Linked DNA regions of Homo sapiens: region 2 is linked to region 1. The links are contacts of gene promoters, found by promoter capture Hi-C in blood cells and fetal thymus (Javierre and others, 2016). All regions are on one chromosome and are shown on one strand. The core of a region is centred on a gene start or on the middle of the fragment in contact, and the rest is flanking DNA. Distances in the headings are between cores, read along the strand shown. Region 1 holds the start of ERLEC1 (endoplasmic reticulum lectin 1). Region 2 holds the start of MTIF2 (mitochondrial translational initiation factor 2).

Evidence for each region. Contacts are between HindIII fragments. The CHiCAGO score rates a contact against its expected background, and 5 or more counts as called.
Region 2: a fragment that was not itself captured here is called in contact with the fragment with the promoter of ERLEC1 in region 1 in 1 of 17 cell types (total B cells); the score reaches 6.6 in total B cells.

The regions. Positions count from the first base shown.
Region 1 is chr2:53,785,318-53,790,497 of GRCh38, forward strand. It overlaps ERLEC1 (endoplasmic reticulum lectin 1), which reads left to right and starts at 1,727. Exons shown (of 14, transcript NM_015701.5): 1 at 1,727-2,055. The coding sequence starts at 1,894. ASB3 (ankyrin repeat and SOCS box containing 3) reads right to left here and starts at 1,636. Exons shown (of 10, transcript NM_016115.5): 1 at 1,504-1,636. The region is part of intron 1 of GPR75-ASB3 (GPR75-ASB3 readthrough); the gene reads right to left. RefSeq lists enhancers at 1,126-1,784, 1,300-1,719. The HindIII fragment of the contact is 9,655 bases long and covers 1-5,180 here.
Region 2 is chr2:55,266,475-55,271,440 of GRCh38, forward strand. It overlaps MTIF2 (mitochondrial translational initiation factor 2), which reads right to left and starts at 2,757. Exons shown (of 16, transcript NM_002453.3): 1 at 2,695-2,757; 2 at 2,104-2,265; 3 at 1,095-1,161. RefSeq lists enhancers at 2,700-2,849, 2,795-3,618. The HindIII fragment of the contact is 171 bases long and covers 2,157-2,327 here.

The DNA of each region.
Region 1 (5,180 bases), core at 477-2,976:
CACTATAGCCCTAAATGCTAAAACAGGACCTCACAGACAGTTTTCATTTTTATTCCGTCAAATACATCTCTTTTCCTTCATGACTTAAGACTAGTGCTTAGCACAGAATAAATGCTAAAAAAAAAAAAAATTGACTATTACTACTATAATAGTTTGCAATTATTTGTTTGTACAATCTCCCTGCCTAGACTGTGTGACCAAAGACAGAAACCCATTTATTTGGCATTTTACCAAGCCCAGGGGGGCCAGGCACAGTGGCTCAGGCCTGTAATCCCAGCACTTTGGAAGGCCGAGGAGGGCGGATCACCCGAGGTCAGGAGTTCGAGACCAGCCTGGCCAACGTGGTGAAACCCTGCCTCTACTAAAAATACAAAAATTAGGGTGTAGCGGCGCGCGCCTGTAATCCCAACTACTCGGAAGGCTGAGAAAAAGGAGAATCCCTTGAACTCCAGAGGCGGAGGTTGCAGTGAGCCAAGATTATGCCTCTGCACTCCAGCCTGGGTGACAGAGCGAGACTTTGTCTCAAAACAAACAACAACAACAAAAATCCCAGGAGTCTGGATCACATTAAGCATTAATAAGAAGTGCTGAATATAATTAGCGAATAACAATTCTGAAGAAAGTTATCTTCTTTGATACTATGGATTCCTGATGTTAAAAAAAAATTTTTAAGATAGAATATGGGACTGTCCTTCCTGCTTTTTGATTTGGTTCAAATCTGAGGAAGTGGGGGCGACCAGTCTTTAACAGATCTAGCAAGACTGTCGAGCTTTAGGGAATGGTAATTTCTCTAAAGCCAACACTCTATGTCCATTATATTGGAGATCAAAACAGACAATGGCATTTTTTCTAAAGAGGGGGAGGGAAAAACAAAACTTTTTGTCTAATTTGGGGATGCAGTCAGACGTGACTTAGTTCATAAACACACACATTCATCTGGCGCTAAACCTCACATAAGGAACCTTACCAGCTTCCTTGATAAAACAACACCCCAACACTTCAATCTAGAGATGGAGGGTAAAAATGTAGGGTTGTGATGTCTAGCTGCCCATTCCACGAGAGTCGCCCACCACGCCAAATTCGGAGGCTTGCGGTATTCACCTACGGGGAGATGGCGGGCTACCTCACCCCAGGTTTCCCCTAACACAGAGTTGCAGTCGCTGAACAAACTGCCCTGCGTTAGTCAGAAGCTGTTAAGTAACGAGATGGCCACGGTCCACAGCAGAAGAGATGGAGATAAGCCTCAAGCGGGAAAAATGAAGTGTACAAATGCCAAATGCGGAGAAAAAGAAGAAAAGCTGCAAGAAGGCAGGTCAGTCAGGAACACCGCCATTTCTCACATCTCATCGCTACTTCGAATTTTCTCATCTAAGGACCCGCACCCGCACGGTTCACACTGTCTTCTTCCCGCTATCACTCCGTGTGGGTCAAACCTCTGCCTGCCCACTGGAGAGCAGCGGGAATGGCTTCAGGAAGCGGCTGCCGCCTCCGAGACTCACCGACCTGCCGTGCTGCCACTTCTACACCGAAATGGCTGGTCCGAGGCCGCGTCTCCAGAGCTGCGTCCCAGAAGCCCCCGCTTTCGATCCCCACCGCGATGCTGCAGCCGTCCGAAAACGAGAGACGCGCAGGCGACGTCCCGGCCCCCGTAGGCGGACGGCTCCGCGACCCCCGGATGTTGATATGTCGTCTGCCCCGGAAACGGTGACAGGAGGCTCAAGGGGGCGGAGGCGGCGTTGCCGGGCTCTCCGGAAGGAGACGTGGCGGCGGTTGGGCCGGTGATACCCGGGCGCTTTATAGTCCCGCCGCCTCCTCCTCCACCTCCTCCTCCTCCTCCTCTCCTCCTGGAGCAGAGGAGGTTGTGGCGGTGGCTGGAGAAAGCGGCGGCGGAGGATGGAGGAAGGAGGCGGCGGCGTACGGAGTCTGGTCCCGGGCGGGCCGGTGTTACTGGTCCTCTGCGGCCTCCTGGAGGCGTCCGGCGGCGGCCGAGCCCTTCCTCAACTCAGCGATGACATCCCTTTCCGAGTCAACTGGCCCGGCACCGAGTTCTCTCTGGTCAGTGCCCTCACTAACCCCGCAGCCACCCCTCCTCCTGACACTAAGGGTTCGGCCTCTTCCCTCGGTTTTCTTTGCTTTTTCTCCCCAAGACCTTCTCTGCAGACTCTTACCTTCCCCAAGCCAAAGCTGCTTTTATGCAGCGTTCATTCATTCGTTCGTTCTCACGTTATGTGGATGCGTCCCCCTTGCTGAGCATTAGGGATCCAGCAATCACCTGCTCTCCACCTTTTCAATTCTGTCGCACTAGACCTTGCTTCCCAACATTCCCACCCTGCAGAAGCAGCTTTCGTAGAATAACGTCAGGTGCACTTACTCATCTTCCTTTCGGAAAATTAACTGTGGCTCTTACTTCACCAGCAGACTTCTTTCCTTCAGTATTACATGTCACCCTGCCCACACCACAGTACTTCAGACTCGAGTTCCCTCTCTCGTATTCGTTCTCCCTCAGTTGTATACACACACGGACATACGCAAACGCACAGCTCCAAGGGAACTTTTTCCTTTCCTAGTTGTTTCTGAGAGGGCTATTTGGCCTGTGAGATGTTAACGACCCTTTATGCAGAATATCCTTTACAGTTTTCATGTATTACGACTGTTATTTGAGTCCCCAGAACATGAGCTTCTATGTTGAGTTTTCCTGTAGTGAAGAACATTTGTAACCTCGCGGAAATGAAAATTCCCTCTTGGGGGAGTGGACCGCTGAAAAGTCTTCCTGTCCACGTGTACCTACTGCAGGCTAATAAATATTGTACTCTTATGACACTTACCATGTAGTAATTAACTCATTTACTTCAAATTGAAGTCCCGGAAAAAGCAAAATTTTTTTAAACTTTTTATTCCAATTACCTTCAAGCATTCAACTTGCAATACTTTATTATATTCTTTCATTACCATTTCATTGAAACAGTAAGTGACACTATGATGTCAAAACAAGATGTGTCAAGTTAATGGATGTTATTACCACATAGCTTTCTATTTGCAAGTGTTAGGGGTTTTTTGGTTTGGTTTGGTTTGGTTTGGGTTTTTCTGTTTTTGTTTGTTTTTTGAGACAGGGTCTCAGTCTGTTGCCCATTCTGAAGTGCAGTGGTACGGTCACCACTGGCTGCAGCCTCGACCTCCTGGGCTCAAGAGATCTCCTCAGCTTCCCAGTAGCTGGGACTATAGGGAAATCCCACCACTCCTGGCTAATTTTTTTTTTTTTTTCTAGAGGCAGGGTCTCACTATGTTGCCTAGGCTGGTCTCGAACTCCTGGGCTCAAGCAATCCTCGTGCCTGAGCCTCCCAGAATACTGGGATTACATGTGTGAACCAAATGTTCTGAATTTATCTAGGTAAATATTTTTCTGGGACGTCAAATTTCTCTTTGTATTAATGCCACAAAATATTGATACATTGAAATACCTATGTAAAATTTTGTTATGAATCAGATATAACTTTAGCAGGCTTGGAAGAGAATACTTTAATACCTGTTGTTGTATCCAAAGAGCACACTTGGAGTGAATATGGCAGATGTTTGAAGAATTATGTCATTAAAATTTTTTACTCTTGGCACCTGTGTTTTTTTTAATTTAAAAAAACTTGCTGATATGCAGCCCTGAAAACTTACTATAAGCGAGCGACTAAAACTAGCATTTTTAGAGGTCACTACCAAATTGTCATTCCATTTTCTTTCAGTCTTAGCATTTGCTACACCAACTTTTCACGTATCTAACAATTTTATTTCAAAAAAAAAATGCTTTGGCCATGTGCGGCGGCTCACATCTGTAATCCCAGCACTTTGGGAGGCAGAGGCAGGCGGATTATGAGGTCAGGAATTCAAGACAAGCCTGACCAACGTGGTGAAACCCCATCTCTACTAAAAACACAAAAATTAGCTGGGCGTGGTGGTGCACACCAGTGCTCCCAGCTACTTGGGAGGCCGAGGCAGGAGAATCGCTTAAACCCGGGAGGTGGAGGTTGCACTGAGCCAAGATTGCACCACTGCACTCCAGCCTGGGTGACAGAGTGAGACTCTGTCTCAAAAAAAAAAAAAAAAAAAAAAATTCTTTTTTTAGAAGCTGGAGTGCAGTAGGTATTTATAGGCATGATTATGCTCACTACAGCCTCAAACTCCTGGGCTCAAGCCATCCTTCTGCCTCAGCCTCCTGAACAGCGAGGACTACAGGTGGTCACCATTGCATCTGGCTTTTTTTTCTTTAAGTCTGTGCTACTTTGAGAAAAATCTAGAGTGTTCTGTGAATTGTCACAAGGCCTATGTCCTTTATGTAAAAATAAGCCACAATAGTCATTATCATTGGTCTTTTGATTTTTTTTAATACTTCTATAACCTTAAGGCTTCCCTTTGCATTTAACTGAAATTACTGGCTGGGCACAGTGGCTGACGCCTATAATCCCAACATTTTGGGAGGCCGAGCTGGGTGGATTACTTGAGCCCAGGAGTTTGAGACTAGCCTAGGCAACATGGCGAAACCTTGTCTCTACTAAAAATAAAAAAATTAGCCGGGCATGGTGGCACATGTCTGTAGTTCCAGCTACTTGGGAGGCTGAGGCAGGAGAATCGCTTGAACCTTGGAGGCAGAAGTTGCAGTGATCCGAGATCATGCCACTGCACTCCATCCTGGGCGACAGAGGAGTCTGTCTCAAAAAAAAAAAAAAAAGAAAAGAAAAGAAACCACTACTCTCCTCACCTGGCGCTGCCATTTTTTTTAATGGGCCAGTTGGTTGGACATTTGTGTTTGTGACAGAGTCTCGCTCTGTCACCCAGGCTAGAGTACAATGGCGCCATCTCAGCTTACTGCAACTTCTGCCTCCCGGGTTCAAGCGATTCTTGTTGCCCAGCCTCCCCAGTAGCTGGGATTGTAAGCGTGCGCTACCACACCTGGCTAATTTTTTTTTGTATTTTTAGTAGAGATGAGGTTTCACCATTTTGGCCAGGCTGGTCTCAAACTCCTGAACTCAAGTGATCCGCCCACCTCGGCCTCCCAAAGTGCTGGGATTACAGGCATGAGCCACCGTGCCTGGCCGCGGGTTGGACATTTGTATCTAACTAATATGCAGCTGTATGAAATAGGATAAGGTCCTTTGTCTGTTTACTAACTGAAATTGGAAGAGACTGGATTAGAA
Region 2 (4,966 bases), core at 992-3,491, 1.5 Mb after region 1:
AAGATCACGCCACTGCACTCCAGCCGGGGAGACAGAGCGAGACTCTGTCTCAAAAAAAAAAAAAATTTTTTTTTAATGATTTATCTCATAATATGGCATTTCTACAATATGCTTATATTTTATATTTATATACAACATATATATTATATAAATATATTTATATTTTCTACTAGATAGTCTTTAAAATTGTTCACAAATGATAATAGTTATTTGATGTGACCAAAGAAATTAAGGCTCTGGACGGGTGATCTTTGCTAGATAACTAGGCATTAAATGCTACATTTCATTCTTTTTTTTTTTTTTTTTTTTTTCAGATGGAGTCTCGCTCTGTTGCCCAGGGTGGAGTTCAGTGGTGTGATCTCAGCCCACTGCAACCTCTGCCTCCTGGGTTCAAGCAATTTTCTCCAGCCTTAGCCTCCCAAGTAGCTTGAACTACAGGTGTGTGCCACCGTGTCAGGCTAATTTTTGTATTTTTAGTAGACACCGGGTTTTACCATGTTGGCCAGGCTAGTCTCAAACTCCTGACCTCAGGTGATCCACCTGTCTCAGCCTCCCAAAGTGCTGGGATTACAGGCGTGAGCCACCACGCCTAGCCTAAATGTTACATTTCAACCAATCTTCCCAAAGTGTATTTTATGGTTCTGACATAGTAAATGTATGGTTCTGACATGGTAAATAGAATATACTGAATTTTTTTTTTTGAGATGGAGTTTTGCTCATCGCTCAGGCTGGAGTGCAATGGCGTGATCTTGGCTCACTACAACCTCCACCTGCTGGGTTCAGGGGATTCTCCTGCCTCAGCCTCCCAAGTCGCTGGGATTACAGGTGCCTGCCAGCACACCCGGCTAATTATTTTGTATTTTTAGTAGAGACGGGGTTTCACCGTGTTGGCCAGGCTGGTCTTGAACTCCTGACCTCAGGTGATCTATCCGCCTTGGCCTCCCAAAGTGCTGGGATTACAGGCGTGAGCCACCGCGCCTGGCCTATACTGAATATTTTTTAAAAGAAAGAAAAGAAATGATAACAGAAACAAGTACAGTATAGCAAAGAAAGTATCTTATTAGGCAACAAAGGAACCTTAGGTGGACACTCACTCTGACAGTCAGTGTTATCTGGACTCAGCAAGTCACTTGTTTCCTATGGGCCTCATTTTCCGGATCTCTGTTAAAAATAAATAAATAAATAAGTGTTTGAATATCTGTCCTTCCTATTACAAGACTAAGAGGAGAAAATGAGATGATGTATATACTTTATCATCAGCTATTTTAAAACCATATCACATGTCTTGATACTCGCTTATAAGCTTTGAGGATTCATTGCTTATAAGTTAAAAATATTCACAAGTCATTAACTTGTTTACCTTCGGACAATTATGAGGTTGTGTATGTGTGTGTAATCGAGCAAGCATTTTACCTTAAAAGGCTTATTCGAGTAAAGATCAAGGAAAAATCTAACTTAATGCCAACGAAATAAACACATTAAGATTTAGAAATTCAGGCTGGGCGTGATGGCTCATGCCTGTAATCCTAGCACTTTGGGAGGTCGAGGCGGGCGGATCACCTGAGGTCAGGAGTTCGAGACCAGCCTGGCCAACATGGTGAAACCCCCTCTCTACTAAAAGTACAAAAATTAGCCGGGTACGGTGGCGGGCGCCTGTAATCCCAGCGACTTGGGAGGCTGAGGCAGGAGAATCGCTTGAACCCAGGAGGCAGAGACTGCAGTGAGCCGAGATCAGGCCACTGCACTCCAGCCTGGGCGACAGTGAGACTCTGTCTAAAGAAAAAAAAAAGAAGATTTGGAAATTCATTCAATAGTATTTACACACATTAAATACTTCTAAGAATGGCACATGGAAAATATCTTATTTACGTTTGTGCCCCTGGACCAAGAAGTAGAGTGCTCAGGTAACACAGGATTCCTTGAGAAAATAATTTTTAAATCAGTATGAAACCAGATTTGAGAAGAGCACAGATTAATGGAGTGGGAGGAAGGACCCTACGAGATATTAACCAAAGCACAGATATGTAATTGAGGCAGGAACTGGAAAGACACATTGGAGGCAATAACCCAAATGTCAAAACTGGAAGGAAACTTGTCACTTACTCCAAGCTCCTCATTTTACAGAAAAGGAAACGGAAATCCAGAAGGGTCAAAAAAGCTTCTCCAATGTCATACCGCTAGTTAATGGCAGTCAAGACTAGAACCCAGACGTTCTGACTCCCAGTACGGTGTTGTTTCGCCGCTAGGATATCCTTGTCAAGGAATCTGAAAAAAGTATGTTGCAAATACGTAGTTGCGTTAGGGAAAACGTCTGAATGTGAGCTGGAAGCTTTGGAACTTACCAGAAAGGTAAAAATAAATCACTGCAGAAAAATTACGGATCTGGGGTGGCTCGCCTCAAATTGGAGCCCAGAAGGCCTTGGGCCCATGGGAGGCTGGGAAGTGAGGACCTGCACCCACAGCCGCGCGCGAGGAGGGGAAGCCGGCCAGCCGCTTCCGAGAGAACAGTGCACATGCCTTCGTGAATGCCTAACGTGGGCTCACGCAGGGATTAAATGCATCTTGGAAAGGCTTCCGAACGCACAATGTTTATGAAGTTCGCGTGATTTGTGCCACTGACACGTTAGGCGAAACAACACACACCACCTGCACCGGACAACCCTGGTTAAGGGATCCTACCCACTTAACTCCTACCTACAGCCCCGGGCCCCTGGATTCTGAGCACGGGCGGAGATCACCTTCTGGACCCGGAAGAATGGTCGGTAGGTCAGTCCGTCCCCGCTACGGTCCCCGCCGGGCTTCCGGTCCCGCTGGAAAAGGTTCTTTCCGGAATTCAGAGAGTTGCTGTCGCCGCTGGGGGTGGGACTGTCTGCGGTGTCCGCGGCGGGCGTCCAGCCTGGGAGGCGCTGGTTCAACCTGTGGCTCCTCCCAGGGTCAGCCGCGCGTGGTGAATCGTTTCTGCAGGTCCCTTCCATTTCTTACTTTCCTTTCCTTTCTTTCTCTCTTTCCTTTTTTTCTTTCTGTCCCTCTCCTTTCTTTCCTTCCTTCCTTTCTTCATTTCTTCCTTCCTTTCCTCTTCCTTCCTTTCCGTTTTTCTTTCTCTTTTTTTTTTTTTTAAGAAAACTGCCTTTATTCAATTAGAAGTTGGAAAAATTAACTGGTACAGAAAAAAAGTGTAATCAGCTGGAGAAAAAGTGCCACCCATGAGAACTGATGGCTCCTCTGGGAGGGAATCTGGATACAGTGAGGATTTCTAGGAAGCAAATTACTTCTTCTCTGGGGCTATGAGAGGCCTCGGTGGTGCTTAACACTGTAGGAAACGTTAAATGGAGAATTGTGGGAGAAATGATACCTCCTTCAAAGATACGTGTTCCTAACAAGAAGGAAAAAACAAATGCAAGCGAACAGTGGCGGTAGAACCAGTTAGTATTGTGCGAACAGTACTTTCTGTTTTCTCCTAAGTCAGCTCGTGTGTATGGCATTAGGAGTAATAGAGCCAGAGTGCCTGGTTTCCTATCCCAGCTCATTCCTAGTGTGTGGTTGGGAATGTTTTGTCAACTGTCCATGTCCCAGTTTGTTCATCTACATTATAGTAATGACAGTAGCTAGTTCACAGGATTGTAATAAGGTTTTTGTTGTGTTTTTGTTTCTATTTGTTTTTGAGATGGAGTTTCGCTCTTGTTGCCCAGGCCGGAGTGCAATGGCACGATCTCAGCTCACCGCAACCTCTGCCTCCCGGGTTCAAGCGATTCTCCTGCCTCAGCCTCCCGAGTAGCTGGGATTACAGGCATGTGCCACCACTCCTGGCTAATTTTGTGTTTCTTGTAGAGACAGGGTTTTTCCATGTTGGTCAGGCTGGTCTCGAATTCCCTATTTCAGATGATCCGCCCACATCGGCCTCCCAAAGTGCTGGGATGACAGGCGTTAGCCACCTCTCCCAGACTGTTTTTTGTTTTTTTTGAGACAGTGTCACTCTGTCGCCCAAGCTGGAGCACAATGGCGCGATCTCGGCTCATTGCAACCAAACTCCGCTTCCTGGGTTCAAGTGATTCTCCCGCCTCAGCCTCCCGCGTAGCTGAGATTACAGGGGCACATCACCATGCCTCACTAATTCACCATGTTGGCCAAGCTGGTCTCGAACTCCTGACCTCAGGTGACTGCCCACCTAAGCCTCCCAAAGTGCTGGGATTACAGGCATGAGCCACCACGCCCGGCTGCAATAAGCTTTTAATGGGTTGATAAACTGTTGATAAGTAGTGCCTGGTTCATAGTATGTGTTTGCTGTTATGGTTATTACTGCCTGCCCCCAGAGCTTTCCCTCATCTTGCTTGGACATTATGACTTTCAGCTGGTCGTTTTGACCACAACCATCACCACCTCTCAAATATAAATATTGTTTTATTATCTCTGTCTTTTGGTAAAAGGAATTTGAGAAGAAAACAAAATCAATCAATTAATCTTTGTCTTTAAGATCTACCACTCCCCTGGGTAATTGGTATGGTACAGAAGTTCATTACTCAAAAGCATACTTGCCATTGAGGGAAGAGAGAGACCCTCTCATATTGTTTTATATTGTTTTATACTCAGTACCTGTTTTAAGAGAGAAAAAAGAAGTGAAATCAAAGACAGGCAGTCCGGCGCCAGGCCCAAAACCAGGCCTGGCTCTGCCTGGCCTAAACCCAGTAGTTAAAAATCAACTCAGGCTGGGCGCAGTGGCTCACGCCTGTAATCCCAGCGCTTTGGGAGGCCGAGGCGGGTGGATCACGAAGTCAGGAGATCGAGACCACCCTGGCTAACACGGTGAAACCCCGTCTCTACTAAATATATATTAAAAAAAATTAGCCGGGTGTGGTGGCGGGTGCCTGTAGTCCCAGCTACTTGGGACGTTGAGGCAGGAGAATGGCGTGAACCTGGGAGGCGGAGCTTGCAGTGAGCCGAGATGGCGCCACTGCACTCCAGCCTGGGT